Regions from separate parts of the Homo sapiens genome. Here all the other regions are linked to region 2. Evidence: promoter capture Hi-C in 16 types of primary human blood cells and fetal thymus (Javierre and others, 2016). All regions are on one chromosome and are shown on one strand. Each heading gives the region's core, a stretch centred on a gene start or on the middle of the fragment in contact. The rest is flanking DNA. Distances are from core to core; before and after follow the strand shown. Region 1 overlaps IL17RA (interleukin 17 receptor A). Region 2 holds the start of CECR3 (cat eye syndrome chromosome region, candidate 3). Region 3 overlaps IL17RA (interleukin 17 receptor A). Region 4 overlaps CECR7 (cat eye syndrome chromosome region, candidate 7). Region 5 overlaps CECR2 (CECR2 histone acetyl-lysine reader). Region 6 overlaps CECR2 (CECR2 histone acetyl-lysine reader). Region 7 has its middle 15 kb from the start of IL17RA.

Region 1 (3,227 bases), core at 210-2,709, 170 kb after region 2:
TAAATGAGATTGGTCCATAGTTTTTCTTTTTGTATAAGATTTGTCAAGTTTTAGAATTAAGCTTATACTAGCTTTAAAAAAAATGGACAGCTTTCCCTCTTTTTCTGTGGTACTGAATGGTCATCAATAGAGAATGGCTGAATTAAGGTGAGATCTAGTTTAAATCTAAATGTCCATCAAACTAGAAATGGTTGAATAGATTGCTATCTACTATGGAATATTATGCAAATATTAAAGAGAATGAGAATTAGTTGCATAGACATCTGTTGACCTGCAGATGGCTGGAATGTGTTGATGAGAGAGGAAAATAAGTTTCAAATAACTTTTTATAGTATGATCCCAATTTCTATGGAAATAAGTCATGAAAAAGATCTCCCTGAATATATATATATATATATATATATATAGAGAGAGAGAGAGAGAGAGAGAGAGAGAGAGAGAGTGTGTGTATGACTAAATGAGAATAGAAACATGTTAACAGGTGTTAACACAGTTTGCTGGGGGCAAAGGGCACACAAGCAGAGGAGATGGCATGAGGGAAGATAAGGGGAAAAAAGATTTAATCAAAACTGAAAAATATACATATAGGTGAAATATAGAATAACAATTCTATTAGAGGTAATAGCGCATTGACCATATACACATATTTTCTCCCTCTCTCCAAACAATATAACAATTATAGGAAAGAACATTTTTTTTTGTAAATTCTCAAACTCAAAGAGCCAAACTCAGTGGACAAAAGATGTGAACAAAATTTTAAAAGTCCTTTCCAACTTGGCCCCAGCAGCATAGCTCCTGTAAAGAAGAGTGTTGGCTGGGCGCAGTGGCTCATGCGTGTAATCCCAGCACTTTTGGGAGGCTGAGGTAGGTGGATCACCTGAAGTCAGGAGTTTAAGACCAGCCTGGCCAAGAGATGGTGAAACCCTGTCTCTACTAAAAATACAAAAATTAGCTGGGTGTGGTGGCATGTGCCTGTAGTCCCAGCTATTTGAGAGGCTGAGGTGGGAGAATTGCTTGAACCTGGGAGGCAGAGGCTTCAGTGAGCCAAGACTGTGCCACTGTACTCTATCCTGGGCGACAGAGCGAGACTCTGTCTAAATAAAATAAAATAAAATAAAATAAAGTAAGATAAAATAAAATAAAAGGGCTATTCTGTCACCTGCCACCAATGAGGTGGTGACACCAGAATATGCCATCAGCATCCACAAGCACACCCATGGAGGGGACGTCAAGCAGTGTGCCCCTTGGTCACTCAAAAAGTCCCAGAACTTTGCCATGAAGGAGATGGGGACTCCAGATATGCTAACACCAGGCTCAACAAAGCTGTCTGGACCAAAGGAATAAGGAACGTTCCATACTGTGTCCATGTGCAGCTGTCCAGAAAGCATGAGGATGAAGATTCACCAAGCAAGCTCTATACTTTGGTTACCTGTGTACCCATTACCACTTTCAGAAACTGACAGTCAGACATTGTGGATGAGAACAAACTGTTGATGTCAAATAAAATTATAAAACCTCAAAAATGAACAAATGAATGAATAAATAAATAACTGTCCAAGTGGCAGCAGAGTAGGCAGCTGGCTTGTGCTGAGTGGAGGAACTTCTGTCTGAATGCTACAAAAGGGAGTTATTGATAAGGAGGCCAGGGGCCCCTCAGAACCTTATAACGTTCAGGGCTTAGGGGCAGGGAGAATTAAGTGAAGGTCTACATATGGAGTGTTGGGAACCTTATCCTCTCTTTCCGTGCTCTGATCTCAGAATGCTGGCAGCCAGGCCCAAAAAAAACACCTCCAGATTTCAGCATTTGGAGGTCACCCAATAGGCCAGGTTCACGATTAGCTTGACCTCCTATACAGTGAAGTCCAATGTTCAATAAACCTTAACTACACAGAGCATTTAATCAGCTTTTAGGACTTCATTCTTAAAATATTCTCAGACAGCCAAGGAGTACCAGATATTTGAGATAGGTTTTCTGTATGAAAAATAGATCAAAACAATTAAAAAATGCTCCTGGAAGGAAAAAAAAAACAATGCTGTTAACACAATTAAACCAAACAAGTAAAATTATTATAGCCCCGAAGAGATACAACACTGCATCTGTAAGACAGGGGCAGGACACCATGGACAAATGAGCAGGCAGAGAATGAAAACTGAACCTTGAAACTCAATAGAAGTTCTACTAAATAAAAATTCAATAGAAGGGTTAGTCTATGAAATTGAGGACATTTCTCTGAAAGCACAAATAGAATAGGAAAAAATATATGATCATTAGAGATTCAATTTAGGAAACAAAATATGATTGACTAGATTTCTAGAAGGAGATTAACAAAAAAACAGAAGGAAGAAGTTATTTTTTAAAAAAGGAAAGAAAGAAAATATTCTGGAAGAGAAGGACACATATTCCCCGAGAGTGTGGAAAAACTCAAGCTGTATTTTTCCTCTGCCCTCACATCACCACAACAATCAACAGAAGTCACAGAAGACTTCTGTGACTACATATTGGCGGGGGGTGGTTTCTTCCCACCACCAAGCAAGCAATCAATTCGGCAGCAGACACCAGCTGGGTATCCTCCAATTTAATTCTGACACTATTTGGAGATAGCATCAGATCCCACAGGTTGAGTGCTCAGTCCCCAAGACCGCCCACCCCCTAGACACCAGTGGTAAGTCTGGGCCTCCAGAACTTCTAAGACCAACCGGGTTCAACGTGAGATTCTCATGCTCCTCTCTTTCAGTTCAATTAATTTGCTAAAGCTGCTCAGAGAACTCAGGGAAACACATTTCCCAGTTTATTTTAAGGATATCACAAATAATACAGAAGAAAAGGTGAGGTATAGGAGAAGGAGTACAAAGCTTCCATGCCCTCCTCAGGTGTGCCACCCTCCAGGAACCTCCACATGTTCCACTACCTGGAAGCTCTCTGAACCCCGTTTTTATGGAGGCTTCATGTGAGCATGACTGATTAAACCACTGGCCATTGCAACTTCAGGGGGCCTTCAGTTCCCTCTCCCCTTCCCAGATGTGATGGGTAAAGGGGTGGGGCTAAACGTCCCAGCCCTCTAATCCTAACTTGCTTCCCGGGACCAGCCCCCATCCTGAAGCTGCCTAGAGGCTGCCAGCCACCAATGAATCATTAGTATATAAAAGATACAATTTTGGAGATTCTAAGGATTTTAGGAGTTCTATGCCAGAAAAAGGGGTTGAAGACTAAATACATATTTCACAGT
Region 2 (2,898 bases), core at 146-2,645:
TTGTTTGTTTGAGATAAGTCTCGCTCTGACGCCCAGGCTGGAATGCAATGGTTTGATCTCAGCTCACTGCAGCCTCTGCCTTCCGGGTCCAAGCGATTCTTGTGCCTCAGGCTCCTGAGTACTGGGACTATAGGCGCCCAACAACACAACTGGCTAATTTTTGAATTTTTAGTAGAGACGGGTTTCACCATATTGGCCAGGCTGGTTTCGAACTCCTGACCTCAAGTGATCCGCCCACCTCGGCCTCCCCAAGTCCTGGGACTACAGACCTGAGCCACTGCGCCTGGCCTAGACTGGTGTCATTCTGACATTTCCAGGCCACGAAGCAGTCCCAGACTCAGCAGCCCTGGGCATCTGCCGTAGCCCTGTTGTATGATCTGCTCTGCCACTCATGAGGCATGACTCACCCTCCTACCCTCTCCGAGCCTCAGTTTACTCATTTAAATCTCAAAGCCTCCACAGATAATTGGGAAATGAAAGGAAAATCGTGTAAGTATGAATACCTTCCACAGATAGCGGGATCTCATTAATACTAGTTTTCCCCTTTCCATACCTCCCAGCAAAGAAAAGTTGGTAACTGCAGGCCTCTGAACTAGTGCCCCACATCGGAGATACCGGCCACTTCTTACTGAACATTTGCCTGTGTCTACTATAAGGATATAAGATCATCTCAACCTCCCAAGAAGCCGATATTAGCACCCCCATTTTTGCAGCTAAAGAAACTTAGGTGCAGAAAAATGAAATAGCATATTCAAGGTCACAGAATGACCTGGGGCAGAGCTACAGTCTAGACCCCCATCTGTCTGATATAAACCCCATTCTATGAACCCTCAACATTGCTACTCCCCTTCCAACGCCACTGGAGCAGAAAGCTCCAAAACTGGGTGAAGCACATACAGCTCTATAGCAGGCAACCCCATTCCTGTGTTCCACCTAGTGAAGAACCAGGAGGTTGTGCATGACCAAGGTGGTTCAGGGTGAAGGTCAGGGGCTGGCTGAAAATGGAAGGCATCTCAGGCTGGGTCTTTGACTGTGATTATGTCAGGGTTGGGGCTGAAATATTGTGAGTGGTAACTGAGGTTTCAACCTCTTCCCTAGGAAAGAGTGGGGGTGGGGTGGTGAAGCTGGTTAATTGAGATGGGAGGGTTGGGGTGGGGGCAGGCAGAGCCTTCCAAGGCCTTCAGATCCGGTGCTGTTACCGTAAACAAGTGCAACCCTCAGCTCCCTGGAGGGCCTGGGGAGCAAATGCGTGCATCCCTGCTTCGTTCCCAGCAGCTGTTCACTGGAGGACGCAGCCTGCCATCCCCAGCCGACCTCCTCCACAGCCTTCCCCAGCCCCCAGATCAAGCCTCAGGAAGTGGCGCTGCTGAGAATCTCTCCTCCAGCCCTGCCTCCTGCCGAGAGTGTCTTCAGCGCCAGCATTTCCTGGCCTAATTAAGCTGGGTAATGAGTAGCTAAGAGGAGGGGATAAAAGCCCTAGGCGGCTTAGAGCTGGGACAGTTTATGACAGGGGCGTCTGCAGCTGGTGACATTCCTAGGAAAATTATTTCTCATAACCCTGGGAAGTTGCATGCTGTTTCCTTAGCAGCAGAGTAAGCCTCAAAGGTGAGCATGGGGAACACTGCATCTTAAGGGGGCCTGACTGGAGGGTCCTAAAGGTGACAGGTGGGGGGTGCCATGTGTCTGTAGGACTGATCAGAGCTGCAGAGCAGCTACAGGCCACCCGGGCTAATGCCCTTAGCTTAGTCCGAGGCCGGGGCATCCGTGGTGGCCACGTGACTCCCCAGGGCTTGGGTTTTGTGTTTCTTCTGAATGATAGGACTCTGCACAGCATGCAGTTTCTAAGACCGTATCCTTTCAGGGAAGGAAATCTGAGCTAGAGGCTCTGATCCTGACTCCTCCGCAGCCCACTATTAAGGGTGTGAAAATTGTGTTTTGGAAAATATCAGGTGCCCCAGCAGCCAGGAGTGGGTAGAAGAGCTCTCAGACAGGGGCCCTGGGGGAAAGGGGAAGGTGGGCACCAGGCGCTCTGGACACCAGGGCCCGCCCTTCCAGAGACACTCAGGAGCCCAGCGTTGATTATCCCCACTCCCACTCTGCAGCCACAGCCTCAGCCCCCAAATTCTCCTTCTTTGGCACTCAGTTTTGTTTGTTTGTTTTTTGTGTCAGTTCTGTTTGTTTTTGTTTTCTTCAGTCACCTTGCACTCCTTCCTTAGTTGGCCAGGGAACTTCGTGCTGTATGGGGTGGAGCAGGGCAAGGCCCAGGCTCTGGAGCTCGGCCCATCCCCACGTCTCTGAGTGAACTTGGGAGATCAGGTGACCTCTCAGCCATGGTTTTCCCATTTGTAGAATGAAGGCATTAGTGATGTCTAGTGTCCAGTATGTTATGAACCGCAACCTCCACTTGGCCTGTGAGTGGCGAGCGAGGCTGAAATTGGGCCATGTTTCCCAGACCTTTCAAATTAGGTTACCCAGTTTCACCCAAGAACATTTTTGCCCCAATTATCCTGTAAAGCAGAGTCATAGCTAGTGAGTATGTATTTTATTATTATTATTACTGTTATTATTAGAAACAGGGTCTCATTCTGTCATCCAGGCTGGAATGCCATGGTGTGAACATGGTTCGACCTCCCGGGCCCAAGCAATCCTCCCACCTCAGCCACCCGAATGGCTGGGACCACAGACACGTCACCACACCCAGCTAATTTTTGGTATTTTTTGTAGAGACTGGGTTTCACCATGCTGCCCAGGCTGGTCTCAAACTCTTGGGCCCAAGCGATCCTCCTGCCTTTGCCTCCCAAAGTGCTGGGATTACAAGCGTGAGTCACTTCGCCTGGCTGAATACCTGTTTTTGATGATGGAAGGGCCCATTCTCCTGCACTCTTGTAATCAATATTT
Region 3 (3,140 bases), core at 519-3,018, 150 kb after region 2:
CTCTAGGAAGTGTAGATCAGAAAGTGAGGTGGTGACCTCCCACCTCTGGTCTGGTTAAGAGTCTCACTAGGGCCAAGGCAGGCTGCAGAACTTTCCCTCTTCCTCTCATTGAGGGTGATGACAAGAGACATCCGGGGACTGTGCACTTACAGTCGGTGTGGAATGTCACTCTTGCAGTCTTTGAGGCAGGATAAGTATTTTTACATATTTTAAGGGTGCAGGAGGACAGCAGCTAACAAGGCCAGGAAATACTCACTTCCCTCCACCCTCAACAGGATGTGGTGGGGGTGAAACTTGAAGAATTTTTGTTTCCCCTTCTCCCTTCTTACGTTTGGGAAGTTTTATGTAGTGTAACAAACTCTAGACGAGTTACCAGAAGATGTGGATTCTAGTTCTGATTCTGTCACTCATTGGCTTTGAGTGACATATTTTTATTTCCTGGGCCTGTTTTCTCACATTAAAAAAGTAGAAGTTAGATGAGTGATCTCTAAGGTTGAAGGTAATTTCAGCTCTCACATTCTTTTGAGTTTGTGGCTCTTGAAAGCCCTGGTCCTGATGCTCCCTGTAAAGGTGGCTGGGAGAGAAGCCAGCCAGGCTGCACTTGCAGAACATTCCCTGCTCTGTACTGGGTGTGTGAAGCCCCAGCAGAGAAGGCCGGAGGGAGGGCTTGGGTGCCTGGGCTGGGTGTGGGGCAGGGCCTGGCACAGCTGCAGAGTGCACAGGGAGGGTCAGAAGTGCCAAGTCACTGGCCGTTAACTCAGCACCCAGGCCAAGCCCCCGCCTCCCACTTGAAGCCCCCTCTTACAACTGTTTTGGGGGCTTGGAGCAGAAGACACCCTTGTAGACAGACATAAGAGGGGCAGAAGGCTTGACCAGAGTTCTCTTGAGCCTCCTCATGCTCTCAGAGCAGGGAACAGCGGGGGAAAATGTTTACACTCCATGCACAATCTGTGCTTCCAGTCCCTCACCCTATGTGGCCCAATAGCTGGCTGGATTTCACACTTAATTGGTATTTTTTTCTGCCTTCTTCCCCTGCCCCCACTGACTCCTCTCCTCTCCCTTTGATTGTACTCAAGGTTCTGGGGCCTGGGCCCTGGGTGGGTACCAACAGCTGCTCGCTGTTCCCATGTCCTCTCTCCAGCTTTGCTGTGTTTCTCTGCTACCTAATCTCAGTGACTGTGAAAGGACATTGTGTCTGAGCCATGGCCAGCCGCTGGCTGGCCCCCTGATCTGCCCCCCTTCTATTGTTTGGATGGCCATCTCCTGCTGGGCCTCCCTGACTGTAAAATCTCTGTACTGTTTGTTAGGTTTTTGGTGGGAGGCTGTGATAAGTTCCAATGAGCTGCCACTTCCCTGGATATGTCAAGAAGCTGATGGCAACTTGGCCAATTCTGGCAGATATCAGGCCCCCAGTTCAGCCCCAGTCACCCTCTTTTACACATGTGGGTCAACCACTGTGTGCTCAGAGGGTCAGTCCCTTCCTCTGCTGTGTTTTTCTTGAGTCCTTGCACTCACTTCCCCTGCCCCAGTCACGATGACCCCTAAAGCTTCCTTTGCCCTTGCTTTCTAGGGCATCCCTAGTGAAGGGGCAAACCTGAGATTTCTCCGTGGACCTGACAGCCAAGGCAGGGCACTGTCTCCTGAGGCCAGTGCCAGCACGTGCATGGTTCACAGAAAAGGATCCTGGGCTCAGAATCTCGAGAACCGCCTGCTCCTAACAATTCAGCAAGTCAGGGGCTTCCTCTCTGTTAGTCCCCAAATCCTTACTTATTTTAAAAAGACTAGACCCTCTCTAAAGACTGTTCCATTTTAACATGTCCTGATTCTGCATCCGTGGGTTTTGTGAAAGAGAGCTAGCTGGCGGTTAGAGCCTGGAAGAAGGAGGGAAGTGGCACCTCACTAGCATTTATCACTTTTTTCCTTCTCTTTTTAAAAATAAAACCAGACTCTGTTCTGAAAATAAAAAACTTGAGACTTGTGACAAGCTTCCTGTGTGGTTTGTTTTAAGATCTTTTCTGTCCTGGTTTCCTTACAAAATTCTTAAATGTCACTGTGACATTCGCCATTATTTTATAAGTTTGTGTTAACATTATGGGTACACCTTGGCCCTTCTAGGCAGTTGGCATGTTTTTCAGGGAGGCAGTGAAGCTGTGGCCTGGAGCTGGTGAGTGTCTTGACATGCTTTGTTGGCACAGCCAGCTCAGCTCTAATGGACTCAGCCTGAGAACGATTTTTTCTCATCACCCTCGGCTCTCTCTCACTTTTCTTTCCTTCCTTCTTTCTTTTTCTTTGTTTTTGAGACAGGGTCTCACTCTGTCACCTGGGCTGGAGTGCAGTGGCGCCATCATAGTTCACTGCAGCCTCAACCTCCTGGGCTCAAACAATCCTCCTGCCTCAGCCTCCCAAGTAGCTGGGACTACAGAAGTGTGCCACCACGCCCGGCTTCCCATTTCTTTCTAAAAGAGTAGCTTTCCAAAGGGGGAACATCTTGAGAAACTAATTTTTAAATACTGTGCCCTCCTCTATCACTCTTGCCCCAGCCAGAAGCACAAATTCTTACGTATGAATAAGAAGAACAAGGCCATGGGTTTTTGTTTGGTTTTATTTTAACATGAAGGGTAGTATTAAGTCTAAGCAAGAACACTGGGCCTGCACCAAAATAAACAAACACACAGTGATTTTTTTTTTTTCTTAGCACAGAGGCAGCCAGTATTACACAGCCCCTCTCTGTGTTGTGACCCTAGCTTGCTGCTTCTGGCTGTGCCAAATGCTAAGCAGGCGTTTCACTCAGGGCAGCCCGGGAGGCAAGGTCTGAGAGTGGAAGCTCCTGGGAGCCTGAGCTCTCTCTGCCTCTCGTTAGCTGTGGCTTTGGCCATCAACTGGAACTATGTCATTATTTATAAAACAGGAGCAATCACAGGGCTGTGGTGAGAATCACATGAGGTGACACATGTGAAATGGTCCTTTCCCCTAAGACATATATAATTGTAACAAGGAACAAAATTTACATAGAAAATAATTACAGAACAACGTAGGACCATGTCTTCATTTCTCCCTGGAGCGGATGTAAAATAAGGTGATTGATTTGAGCAAGCATGTTATGAATATTTAGAAATGTCTTCTAGGGAAGCAAGCTGGCG
Region 4 (3,283 bases), core at 262-2,761, 210 kb after region 2:
ATACTTCCAGAAAGAAATATTGCTACCCTGAGAAGGGCCTTCCATGAAGAAAAAAAAGTAAATATAAAAAAGAGATGCAGCTTCTTATAAATTATTGTGCTACCCAGTTGTACAATTTATATAGAAAAGGCCAGTTAGTGGCTTGATTTGTTCTTTTTGTTTACCATTTTTCAAAATGATGGTCTGCTTCATTTATATCCTTTGATGGTGACTACTTTTATTTGTTTATTTATTTAGACAGGGACGGTCTAGCTCTGTTGCTCAGGCTGGCATGCAGTGGGACAATCATGCCACCACAGCCTCAAACTTCTGTGCTCAGGCAATCCTCCCATCTCAGCCTCCTGAGTACCTGGGACCACAGACATGGGCCCTTAAGCCTGAGTAATTTAAAACATTTTTTGTAGAGACAGGGTCCCCCTGTGTTGTCCAGGCTGGTCTTGAACTCCTGGGCTGAAGTGATTCTCCTGCCTCGGCCTCCCAAAGGCATGAGCCACTGTCCCCAGCCCACATTTATTTATTTATTTATTCTTTTTTTTTGAGATGGAGTCTTGCTCTGTTGCCCAGGCTGGAGCGCAATGGCGAGGTCTCGGCTTACTGCAACCTCCACCTCCTGGGTTCAAGTGATTCTCCTGCCTCACCCTCCTGAGTAGCTGGGATTACAGGCATGCACCATTACACCCAGCTAATTTTGTACTTTTAGTAGAGATGCGGTTTCACCAGGTTGGCCAGGCTGGTTGCGAACTCCTGACCTCGGGTGATCTTCCTGCCTTGGCCTCCCTAAGTGCTGGGATTACAGGCATGAGCCCTTGTGGCTGGCCAACCCACTTTTATTTTTTATAAAGAATCATTATGAATGCAGACATTCAAACACATTTGATGTATTTCAATCCACTGCAATTATTATCCTTATTAATGTATAAAATGTCCTATCTTTGGTTAGAAGGAGTCCCTTCAGATTGGCTCTTCAGACGTGTTGAAAGCATCCTAATCTTTGATAGATTCCTTGCTATCCAGAGTGACAGTGTTCCAGGCTTATCTTATACATTTCTGGCCTAGACCTGGAATCAGCACTCTCTCCAGGAAGGCTTGTTTTCTTTTAGTGGTATTTTGAGACAATCTTGGTGCTAGGGGTAAATATTGTAATTTTAAAACTTAAAAAAATTGCCTGGTGCAGTGGCTCACGCCTGTAATCCCAGCACTTTGGGAGGCTGAGGTGTGTGGATCACCTGAGGTCAGGAGTTCGAGACCAGCCTGGCTAACATGGTGAAACCCTGTCTGTACTAAAAATACAAAAAATTAGCTGGGCTTCATGGCAGGAGCCTGTAATCCCAGCTACTTGGGAGTCTGAGGCAGGAGAATCGCTTGAACCTGGGAGGCGAAGGTTTCAGTGAGCTGAGATCGTGCCATTGCACTCCAGCCTGGGAAATAAGAGCAAAACTCTGTCTCAAAAAAAAAAAAAAGAAAAAAGAAAAAAAAAAAACCTTAAGAAAATTAACAGCTTTATAGAGGTCTAATTTACATACTAAAATTCACCTATTTTAAGTGTACAATTCAATGATTTTTGTGTGTGTGTGTGAGAGACAAGATCTCACTCTGATACCAAGGCTGGAGCATAATGGTGCTATCATGGCTCACTGCACCCTCAACCTCCTGGGATCAGGTGATCCTCCTGCCTCAGCTTCTTGAGTAGTTGAGACTACAGGCTTGTGCCACCACACCTGTTTAATTTTAAAAAAACTATTTGTAGAGATGGAGTCTCTATGTTTCCCAGACAGGTCTTGAACTCCTGGGCTCAAGTGATCCTCTTGCCTTGGCCTCCCAAAGTGCTGGGATTACAGGTGTGAGCCACTGTGCCTGGTCCAATTCAACGATTTTTAGTATATTTAGTATATTTATGGAATTATGTAACCATCACCGAAATCTAGTTTTAGAACATTTTGTCATCCCAAGAAAGAAACTTGTGCCTATCAGAGTCACTTTTCAGTCTTATTCCCAGCCCTCGACAACCAGTAATCTGCTTTCTGTCCCTATACGAGGCTGTCCTGGACATTTCATATAAACTGAATCATGCAATGTGTGTTGTTTTGCATCTGGCTTCTTTCATGAAGCATTGTGTTGTTGAGGGTGACCACTGTGGTAGTGTGCCTCAGAACTTCCTTTTGATTGTTGAGTAGTATTCCTTTGTATATCCCACATTTTAATCCCTTTGTCAGTAGATGGGCATTTGAGTTGTCTCCACCTTTCGATTCTTGTGAATGGTGTTGTGAATATTCACATACAAGTCTTTGTGTCGACATACATTTTTATTTTCCCTGGGTAGATACCTAGAAGTAAAGTTGCTGGGTTTAAAGCAGTTTTATTTTTAACATTTTAAGAAACTGACATACTATCTTCCAAAAAAGTGGCTGCACCATTTTATATTCCCACTGGCAGTGTATGAGGGTTTCGATTTCTCCACCTCCTCTCCAGCACTTGGCGTTATCTGTCTTGATTGGTTGTATTCATTCTAGTGGGTGTAAAGCGACATCCCATTGTGGATTGATTTGCATTTTCCTAGTGACTGATGTTAAACACTTTTTAATGTGCTTATTGGACATTAATATATCATCTTTGGAGAAATGTCTATTCATGTTCTTTTCCCATTTTTAAGCTGGATTGTCTTTTAATATTGAGTTGTAAGAGTTCTTCTGGATATATCACTTATTAGACATATGATTTATAAATATTTTCTCTCATTCTGTGGGCTGTCTTTCCCTTTTTTGATTGTATCTTTTGATGTGCCAAAGTTTTAAATTTGGCTGATGTTCAATTTGCCATTTTTCATTTTCTCACTTTTTCCCTTTCCTCCTTTTCCAGGTCTCATTATTTAGCCCCAGCTGGTCTTGAACTGTGCTTTTGACATTGCATCTAAGACATCAGTGCCTTACACAAGATCACAAGGATTTACTCCTGTGTTTTTTTCTAAGAGTTTTATAGTTTTAGTTTTTACATTTAGGTCTGTGATCCATTTTCAGTTAATTTTTGTGTATGGTGTTAGGCAGAGACCCAAATTAATTTATTTGCACATGAATATCCAATTGCCCCACCACCATTTGTTGAAAAGACTATTCATGGTTGGACATAGTGGATCATACCTGTAATCCCAGCACTTTGGGAGACCAAGGCAGGAGTATTGCTTGACTCCAGGAGTTTAAGATAAGCTTGGGCAACATGGTGAGACATGTGTCTCTACAAAATGAAAAACAACAAAAAAAGAAAAGACTATTCCTTTCCAAATGAAGTT
Region 5 (3,072 bases), core at 114-2,613, 200 kb before region 2:
CACTGCACTCCAGCCTGAGCAACAGAGCAAGACTCCTTCTCAAAAAAAAAAAAAAGGCAAGGTTTTAAGTAACAATAGTGGTTACCATCTTGGGGACAGATACCAGGTTTCCATTCTTTGGCTTATTTACTCTGCACAAAACTCTTCAAAGTAGGTATTAATGGCATCATTTTACAGATAACTAAACTATGGGCTGACATAAAGGGTTTTCAGTGTAATTCTCTCTCACAAAATAGAGTTACCTTGAATCCAAATGCTTAGAAAGTTTCTTCTAAGATGCTCATTCAATTGTTTTAATTTTGAGTAACAGAAATTTGCTTAAAGAAATGAGGGAAACGACAATAAATAGCCTGAAACCAACCTCAATCAATACAGGTTATGGATTTTTACAGAGGTCACTTGATTGAATCCATTTTAAAAGGAGCGGAAGGCCAGGCGCTCTGGCTCATGTCTGTATTCCCACTTTGGGAGACCAGGAGTTCAAGACCAGCCTGGCCAACATAGCGAAACCCTGTCTCTACTAAAAATTTAAACCCTGGAGGCGGAGGTTGCAGTGAGCCGACGAGATCATACCACTGCGCTCCAGCCTGCGTGATGGCGCAAGACTCTGTCTCAAAATAATAATATAAATAAATAAATAAATAAAGGAGCGGGGGGTAGTTACTTTACCATGTTCAATAAATGCTCTGAGGATTCAATAACACGTGTTGTATTCTCATTATTAAAATCACTTTAGGCAGGGTGCAGTGGCTCATGCCTGTAATCCCAGCAATTTGGGAGGACGAGGTAGGTGGATTGCTTGAGGACAGGAGTTCAAGACCTGCCTGACCAACATGGCAAAACCCTGTCTCTACTAAGAATACAAAAATTAGGCTGGGCGTGATGGCTCACGCCTGTAATCCTGGCACTTTGGGAGGCTGAGGCGGGGGGATCACGAGGTCAGGAGTTCATGACCAGCCTGGCCAAGACGGTGAAACCCCGTCTCTACTAAAAATACAAAAATTAGCCAGGCATGGTGGCACGCACCTGTAATCCCAGCTACTCAGGAGGTTGAGCCAGGAGAATCGTTTGAACCCAGGAGGTGGAAGTTGCAGTGAGCCAAGAATGCACTACTGCATTCCAGCCTGGGTGACAGAGCAAGACTCTGTCTCAAAAAAAGGAAAAAAACAGGTGGTGAATGCCTGTAATCCCAGCTACTAGGGAGGCTGAGGCATGAGAATCACTTGAACTCAGGAGGTGGAGATTGCAGCAAGCCAAGACTGTGCCACTGTACTCCAGCCTGGGAGACAGAGTGAGACTAGGTCTCAAAAAAACAAAAAACAAAATAAAACACAAAAACAGTTTAAATAGAAATATTTGGCCAGGTGCAGTGGCTCACACCTGTAATCCCGGCACTTTGGGAGGCCGAGGCGGGCGGATCACGAGGTCAGGAGATCAAGACCATCCTGGCTAACACGGTGAAACCCCGTCTTTACTAAAAATACAAAAACTTAGCCGGGCGTGGTGGTGGGCGCCTGTAGTCCCAGCTGCTCGGGAGGCTGAGGCAGGAGAATGGCGTGAACCCAGGAGGCGGGGCTTGCAGTGAGCTGAGATCGCGCCACTGCACTCCAGCCTGGGCGACAAAGCGAGACTTCGTCTCAAAAAAAAAAAAAAAAATTTAAATATTGATGTTTTAATGATCATGAATGTGCACCTACCTATAGGTCAAATACCCAACTGTCAAGTGAATTAGAAATTGTGACTTAGAAAAATTTTCAGAAAATACTATCAGAAGTACATTGAAAAACTTAATAGAGAGGCTGACGTGCTCTCGAAAACTGCACATCAATACTTTCCTTCAAAAGGAAGTTCTGGACTGGGCACAATGGCTCATGGATGTAATCCTAGTGCTTTGGGGGACTGAAGTGGGAGGACTGCTTGAGTCGAGGAGTTTAAGACCAGCCTGGCAACTTTGTGAGATCTCATCTCTACAAAGAAATTTTTTTAATTAGCTAGGTATGGTGGTGCGTGCCTGCAGTCCAAGCTATTCAGGAGGCTGCAGAGGGAGGACTGCTGGAGCCCAGGAGTTTGTGGCTGCAGTGAGCTATGAGCATGCCGCTGTACTCCAGTCTGAACGACCAAGCAGAGAAGAGAGAGACCTTGCCTCAAAAGAAAAAAAAGACTTTTATTCCTTAAAAATGTAATAAGCATAACAAATGTTGGTAGCTGCCAATATTAACTGAATTGGGCCAAGACAGTGAGGGGTGGCAGAGCAAAGATGCCCTCTGTCAAACCCCTACTCGTCAGAGATAAGCAGCAGGGAGAATATGGCCACTTCTTTGACAATTTAAGAACTAGGAGTTTTCTTTTAATTATGTGGACACCTTTTTAAACTTGATACTAGTAAGAAATTTCATCAGTTGGCCTAAAGAGAAGAAATTCCTGCCTAAGCAATTACCTGTCTCAACTGATGAAGCAGTTCACTAGTGAAACTTCATTAAAATGACTGAAGCCTCAGAGATGGTAACAAAAACTTCTATACAAAATCTTAATGCCAGTATTAGTGATGCAAACAAATTTTCATTCCCACCATTGTACTGCAACCAAGCCAAATTTAACAAATGGTTCTCAGCCTCCATCATACTAAGTTTAAAAGCAGCATTTAAGTTGATTCTATCTTAAAATAATTTCTTCTCTGGCTTTCAGGACACACCCACCCACCACCGCACTGCTATTTCTTTTCCATCTTTGCTGTTTTCCTCACCCTAGCCCTCCAACTCTACTGCTGGAGAACCACCCCTTGGACCTCTTCTTTTCCCTGCTCTTGCTTCCCTTTCTGCTCTACACCCACTGACTCTTGATAGCTCTTTCAGCATCATGGCTCAAAATCCCATCGATTAGGCTGGCTCTCATTACACCCCCCCACCTCTCCTCAACTCCGGAGTCCCCTTATCCCAGTGCCCGTCCCCGACGTCAGCAATGAATGTCAAACAGGCAGCGCAAACTTAACAGAACCAAACCGAGCTTTGGATCTCACCTCTTCAAACCTGATTCCCTCTAACTCCCCAGTCTCAGTAAATGGCATATTTCTCC
Region 6 (3,118 bases), core at 134-2,633, 150 kb before region 2:
AGGTGGCCTGCTCCAGTCTTCCGCGGGAGCTTCTGGGAGGAGGGGCGCCCCAGGCGTCCCCTGGCAAGTGCTCGTGCTCCTGACCCCGCGGGGGCTTCAGGGACCGCCACCAGGGATGCGTGGGCGAGTTGTCCACAAGCCGCTGCTGGTGATGGAGCTGGGCGAGCAGCCATTTTCCTTCCCGTCAGTCAGGACAGCCACGTCATCCGCGTCTGGGAAGGCGCCTCCGCGGTGCCCTTGGCCAGGGCCCCGGGCTTTGTCTCCGAGCAGTGTCCCCTGAGGCGAGGCGGGGCCCAGCCGATAGGCTCCAGCTCCAGCCTCTCGCTGGCTCCACCAGTCCAGGATGTACCTGTGGAAATGAAGTGGCCCAGGGCTTCGGCCCGCGCCTCCCGGGCTCCTGGACCTGACAGTGCGGTCACCCTGCAGGATGAGCTCGGCCGGGCTGGGCCCCACGTGGAAGAACACAGAGCTGCTGTCCTCCCTCTCCCGTCCTCCCTCTCTCCAACAGAGTCGAGGAATGGATGGGTCCATTGGGGTCTTTGCCCAAATCCATCGCCTCCGCCATGTCTGACGCCGGGCACTAGAGGAGCTGCCCCTCGCGAGTGTCTGGCACACAGCGAGACTGACCTAACCTCATTTTTATATAGCTCATCTGGAGACCAGAAAGACTAAACAATACTTAAACAAAGTTAGTTACATGATTGCACAGCTCACAGCTAATTATAACAGAAACAGAAAACTATTAGGAAAGTATGTGAACGGATACAAGTAAAAGGGAGTTGGTTTCTGACAAGAGGTGCAATAGAAACCTCCCTCTCCCAGTACCTGTGGGGCTACTACAGTTCCGGGCAAAGACAGACACAGCTCAACAGAACGAAAATGAACCACTAAGCTACAGCGCAGTGCAGTAACACATAGGCTTGAGGATGCACAATTACTGGGACTAGATAAAAGTATATCCCATACATTAGCCTGGGAAGGACAAGTAAAACGGCATATGTTATGATTGCACTTATTTTCCAGGACAGACAAATTTATCTGTAGTGAGAGAAATCAGATCAGCCATTGCCTGGGGCAGGGTATGTGTGGTGGGGCAGATTTGACTGCACGCAGCATGAGAGAACTTTCTTGGGGAATGAAAATGATTTATATTTTTTGGGGGGTGGTGGTTATACACTTGTATACAGCTGTCAAAACTCAACTGTATACTTACAATCTGTGTAATTAATTGTATACAAATTATACCTCAAAGATGATTGGTTTTTATGTTTTTTTTTAAGGCTAAGAAGTATAATACGTTCTATCAAGATTCTTCTCAAAAGCGGAAAATTTAAAATTGAGGGCCGGGCACAGTGACTCACACCTGTAGTATCAGCACTTTGGGAGGCCAAGGCAGGTGGATCACTTGAGGTCAGGAGTTCAGGACCAGCCTGACCAACATGGTGAAATCCTGTCTCTACTAAAAATACAAAAAAATTAGCCGGGCATGGTGGCACGTGTCTATAGTCCCAGCTACTAGGGAGGCTGAGGCATGAGAATCCCTTGAACCCGGGAGGCAGAGGTTGCAGTGAGCCAAGATCACGCTACTGCACTCCAGCCTGGCTGAAAAAACAAGGGTCTGTCTCAAAAAAATACTAAAATAAAATAAGAGGCCAGACTGGGTGTTGTGGAATGCTGCCTATAGTCCCAGCTGCTCGTGTGAATGGCTTGAGGCTATGAGTTGGAGGGCAGCCTGAGGCAACATAGCGAGATCCTGTATCAATTTAAAAAAAATTTTTTTTCAGGCCACAAGTAGTAAACTGTAGTAAACTCCATTATATGGAAATCTCAGCTATCCAGAAGATCTGCTTCCAAGTAAATTCCAGAGAGCCACAATTTTACTTTTCATCCTAAGCAGAAATCGTAGCAATAACACCTTTAACCTAATTATTTTTTCTCCCTTTTTACAAGACTTGTCAAAACTTGACAGTGATTAATATTAGTTTCACTAAGTACAGCTTTTTAAGTTGTTATAAAGATAGTGCCACTCAATGGTTGTTGGTAGGCCTACATTTAAATTTATCTAAATGCCATTTCTATTCAAATGCCTACAACAGAAACTTCTGAAACGCATGGAGTAAAGGCAATCAAAAAATAAGTTTCTTCAAGAATTAACGAGGGTAAAACATCTACCACTGTATGTGATAAAGTTAAATTCTTAGATTTTTTTTAAAGTCCCTTTGTCGTAAAAAAAAAAAAAAAAGAATCTGACAATGTTGATGTGATATACGTATCAAGAGACTTTAAAAAGATTCATACTGTGACACTTTTAAGGAGTTACTATATGGAAATAATCATAAATGTGCACATTTGGTATCCAATGGTGCTTTATTTATTTAGAAAGAGAAAAAGTAAAGCTACTGACACAATCTAAGGTTCCAAATTGGAAGAACCATGATCCATCTATAATAGTATGATCAATGCCAGGCGTGGTGGGTCGCACCTGTAATCCCAGCACTTTGGGAGACTGAGGCAGGCAGATCACTTGAGGCCAGCAGTTCCAGACCAGCTCGGCCAACATCATGAAACCGTGTCTCTACTAAAAATACAAAAATTAGCTGGGCATGATGGCACGTGCCTGTAATCCCGGCTACTAGGGAGGCTGAGGCATGGGAATTGCTTGAACCCAAGACAGTGCCACTGTACTCCAGTCTGGGCGACCAGAGCAAGACTCTGTCTCAAAATAACAATATAATAATAACAGTATGATCAAGATTTGAACTCCTATAGCCTAGATTGTGGGACCAAAATCCTAACCAACATACCCTATTTGGTTTTGCCCATTTTATCATTCAGAGCATTAATGAGGAGGATGCAATTTGTCAATATCTGAGGGCAAAGGAAACAAATACAAAAAAAGGTCAGTGACAATAAAGGTATAGAAAAAAACTAAACATATATATATTCCATCTTCTTGACTCACAAAGCAAAAAGAAATTCCAAATTCCATATTAGTAATCATTTTAAGGAAGTGATAAATATAAATCACTGCTCCTTTCTTCATGTCTCTAGCTTACCTTTGAACTCTATATATGCGAACATATTTTATAAGAGATCTGTCACTATTTAGAGAGCCATA
Region 7 (2,840 bases), core at 269-2,768, 200 kb after region 2:
GCCTGGGCGATGGAGTGAGACTCTGTCTCAAAAAAAAAAAAAAAGAAATAATACTAATTATATTCAAGAAAGTGCTTCAAAAAATTGAAGAGGAGGGAATACTTCTAAACTTATTCTAGAAAGTCAGCATTACTCTGATACCAAAACCAGATAAATACACACAAAAAAGAAAACCACAGGCCAATATCAAGCATAAACATAGATGCAAAAATTCTCAACAAAATACTAGTGAACTTCAACAACATGTTAAAAAATAATTCACCATGATCAAGTAAAATTCATCCCAGGAATTCAAGGATGATTCAACATACGCAAATCAATAAATGTGATACATCACATTAACAGAACCAAGAACAGAAGCCATATGACCATTTCAATAGATATTGAAAAATCATCCAATAAAATTCAACATACCTTTATAGTAAAAATCCTCAGCAAACTGGGTATAGAAGAAACATACCTCAAAATAACATAGGCCGTAGATGACAAACACACAGCTAACATTGTATATTGAAAACCTTTCTTCTAACATCTGGAATAAGACAAGGATGCTCACTTTTCACCACTTTTATTTAACATAATATTGGAAGTCCTGGAAGAGCAATTAGGCAAGGGAAAAAAATAAAGAGTACTAAAATTGGAAAGAAAGAAATCATAGCCTTGTTCACAGATGACATGAACTTACACTTAGAAAAACCTAAAGACTCCACCAAAAAACTGCTAGAACTGGTAAACTAATTCAGTAAGTTGCTGGATACAAACTCAACATACAGAAATTAGTAGCATTTATATATGTCAATGGTGAATAATCTGAAAAAAGAAATCAAGAAAGCAATCTCATTTACAATAGCTACAAAAATATGAAATACATAGGAATCAATTTAGACAAATAAATGAAAAATCTTGATATGGTTTAGATGTTTGTCCCCTCCAAATCTCATGTTGAAATGTGACCTCCAGTGTTGGAGGTGGGCCTACCCGGAGGTGTTTGGGTCACGGGGATGGAATCTTCACAAATGACTTGGTGTTGTCCTGCAGTAATGAATGAGTTCTCACTCTATGACTTCATGCGAGATCCGGCTGATCAAAAGAGCCTGGCATTTCCTCCCGCTCACTCTTGCTTCCTTTCTCACCATGATTTGCTTGCTCCCTCTTTGCCATATGCCATGATGGGAAGCTTCCTGAGGCCCTCATCAGAAGCAGATGCTGGTGCCATGCTTCCCTTACAACCTGTAGAACCATGAGTCAAAATAAACCTCAGGAGGGACCACTCTGGAAGTAGACCCAGCTGTTCTGATGCAATTCAGAAACTCTAACTAAACTGAAATCTGTAACTCATCTCAGTTCCAAATTTTGGACTGAGCAGCCCCAGCCAAACTGAGACAGTAATTCTGATCTCCTTAAAGTGGTAAGCATAGGAAAATGCTGTGAAGGTGTAGAAATAAGCATTGTGATAAGAAAAATGTCTACCAAATCCGTGATATTACTACTTTGCATTAGGTTTAGAAAAAAACTGAAATCATCATGGTAATTTGTATGTATTATTTGTTTCTTAAGGCATCTGAAATATTTTGGAGAATGTCATGTTAGAGAATCTGGCATATTATGATTGTGATATTAATTTGAAATAGTTAAGAGGATTTGATATTCATCTTGTGACTTATTTTGAAATATTAAAAAAGTTGAATGATAATAGATTCGAATATTTTTAAATGTGTAAAATAATTTGATTATTTTGTAATCAGTATTGAGATTTTTCCAAATAATTTGATTTATGAAAATTTTAAATTAAGACTTAAGTTCTGGGTAAGGAATTTAAACGCTTAGGGTGGTTCTGTCATAAAGAAACGAAAGCTTGTCTTATTAGGACTTTGATGAGAAGGTAGGGTACATTATGTTGATGACTATGGTTTGACGTGCCCAGGAAACCCAGTTATCCAATTTCATTAACATATCTTCCAAAAACAGATGTTAAATACCTTTTAAAGAACTCTGCTGTTAGCTGCTAAGGTTAAAAACTTAAAAATTTTCAGGCTGGGTGTGGTGGCTCATGCCTGTAATCCCAGCACTTTGGGAGGCCAAGGTGGCTGGATCACCTGAGGTCAGAAGTTTGAGACCAGACTGGGCAACATGGTGAAATCCCATCTCTACTAAAAATACAATAATTAGCTGTTGAACCCTAGAGGTGGAGGTTGCAGTGAGCTGAGATCATGCCACTGCACTCCAGCCTGAGCAGCAGAGTAAGACTCCGTCTCAAAATAAATAAATAAATTAATTAATTAATTAATTAATTCACAATCAAAGTGATTTGAGGAATGGGGATAAGCGGAAGTTCCCTTGTGTTTGCTGGAATCTGAAAGGCTTTTTGATGGAGTGACTTTTGAGAAGGGTCCTGAGGAATGAGACAGTGGGTGAAGGGGGAGAAGGGCATTTTAGGCAAAGGAAAGGCATAGAGTTTTTTCAGGGGATGCAAGAGGTCTAATGTGACTGGATTGGCTGATGGGTTACAGCAGGGGAGTTGGGCTGTGAGGAGCCATGGGTGTGTGTTGGGCAAGAAGGAGACATTTTGATTTCACAAATACTTATGGAGCGTGATGAGCCATGCACAGCACAGGCACTAGACTCAAAAGGCCACAGGAGGGAGAGCTTCAGAGGCTCCACGGGGCCTTTGACAATGCTGAGGTGGGGATCCAAGTCAGATCCCAAGGAGAAAGTGGCTATTGTGGAGGTGGAGCTCCCATGCAAAGCAGGCCTGACTTAACAAATCTTAAAAATAGCAGAAAAGCCAGTTTCAGTGTGGGGGCTCGAAGGGGCAGCAGAGGAACCCCCTTGCAATTCTG

The links. The method cuts DNA at HindIII sites, captures the fragments that hold promoters and counts their contacts. A CHiCAGO score of 5 or more calls a contact.
Region 1: a fragment that was not itself captured here is called in contact with the fragment with the promoter of CECR3 in region 2 in 2 of 17 cell types (M2 macrophages and non-activated CD4 T cells); the score reaches 5.6 in M2 macrophages.
Region 3: a contact is called between a fragment that was not itself captured here and the fragment with the promoter of CECR3 in region 2, in 2 of 17 cell types (non-activated CD4 T cells and M2 macrophages). The highest score is 5.8, in non-activated CD4 T cells.
Region 4: a contact is called between a fragment that was not itself captured here and the fragment with the promoter of CECR3 in region 2, in 1 of 17 cell types (activated CD4 T cells). The highest score is 5.4, in activated CD4 T cells.
Region 5: a contact is called between a fragment that was not itself captured here and the fragment with the promoter of CECR3 in region 2, in 6 of 17 cell types (M2 macrophages, M1 macrophages, endothelial precursors and 3 more). The highest score is 11.9, in M2 macrophages.
Region 6: a fragment that was not itself captured here is called in contact with the fragment with the promoter of CECR3 in region 2 in 1 of 17 cell types (M2 macrophages); the score reaches 8.0 in M2 macrophages.
Region 7: a contact is called between a fragment that was not itself captured here and the fragment with the promoter of CECR3 in region 2, in 10 of 17 cell types (M2 macrophages, non-activated CD4 T cells, total CD8 T cells and 7 more). The highest score is 8.8, in M2 macrophages.

Annotation. Positions count from the first base shown.
Region 1 is chr22:17,091,872-17,095,098 of GRCh38, reverse strand. The region is part of intron 1 of IL17RA (interleukin 17 receptor A); the gene reads right to left. It also overlaps the pseudogene RPL31P62. Among named protein-coding and RNA genes, the nearest start is that of IL17RA, 8.5 kb to the right of the region's middle. The HindIII fragment of the contact is 2,792 bases long and covers 64-2,855 here.
Region 2 is chr22:17,265,230-17,268,127 of GRCh38, reverse strand. CECR3 (cat eye syndrome chromosome region, candidate 3) reads left to right here and starts at 1,395. Exons shown (of 3, transcript NR_038398.2): 1 at 1,395-1,605. The HindIII fragment of the contact is 21,393 bases long and covers 1-2,898 here.
Region 3 is chr22:17,115,138-17,118,277 of GRCh38, reverse strand. It overlaps IL17RA (interleukin 17 receptor A), which reads right to left. Exons shown (of 13, transcript NM_014339.7): 13 at 2,585-3,140. It overlaps TMEM121B (transmembrane protein 121B), which reads left to right. Exons shown (of 1, transcript NM_031890.4): 1 at 1-1,981. Among named protein-coding and RNA genes, the nearest start is that of TMEM121B, 4.7 kb to the left of the region's middle. The HindIII fragment of the contact is 438 bases long and covers 1,550-1,987 here.
Region 4 is chr22:17,050,798-17,054,080 of GRCh38, reverse strand. The region is part of intron 3 of CECR7 (cat eye syndrome chromosome region, candidate 7); the gene reads right to left. Among named protein-coding and RNA genes, the nearest start is that of CECR7, 16 kb to the right of the region's middle. The HindIII fragment of the contact is 3,382 bases long and covers 1-3,202 here.
Region 5 is chr22:17,463,582-17,466,653 of GRCh38, reverse strand. The region is part of intron 1 of CECR2 (CECR2 histone acetyl-lysine reader); the gene reads right to left. Among named protein-coding and RNA genes, the nearest start is that of CECR2, 96 kb to the right of the region's middle. RefSeq lists an enhancer at 529-1,287. The HindIII fragment of the contact is 3,741 bases long and covers 1-3,072 here.
Region 6 is chr22:17,416,144-17,419,261 of GRCh38, reverse strand. The region is part of intron 1 of CECR2 (CECR2 histone acetyl-lysine reader); the gene reads right to left. It also overlaps the pseudogene TERF2IPP1. Among named protein-coding and RNA genes, the nearest start is that of CECR2, 48 kb to the right of the region's middle. The HindIII fragment of the contact is 5,330 bases long and covers 1-3,118 here.
Region 7 is chr22:17,068,388-17,071,227 of GRCh38, reverse strand. No RefSeq gene overlaps it. Among named protein-coding and RNA genes, the nearest start is that of IL17RA, 15 kb to the left of the region's middle. The HindIII fragment of the contact is 677 bases long and covers 1,180-1,856 here.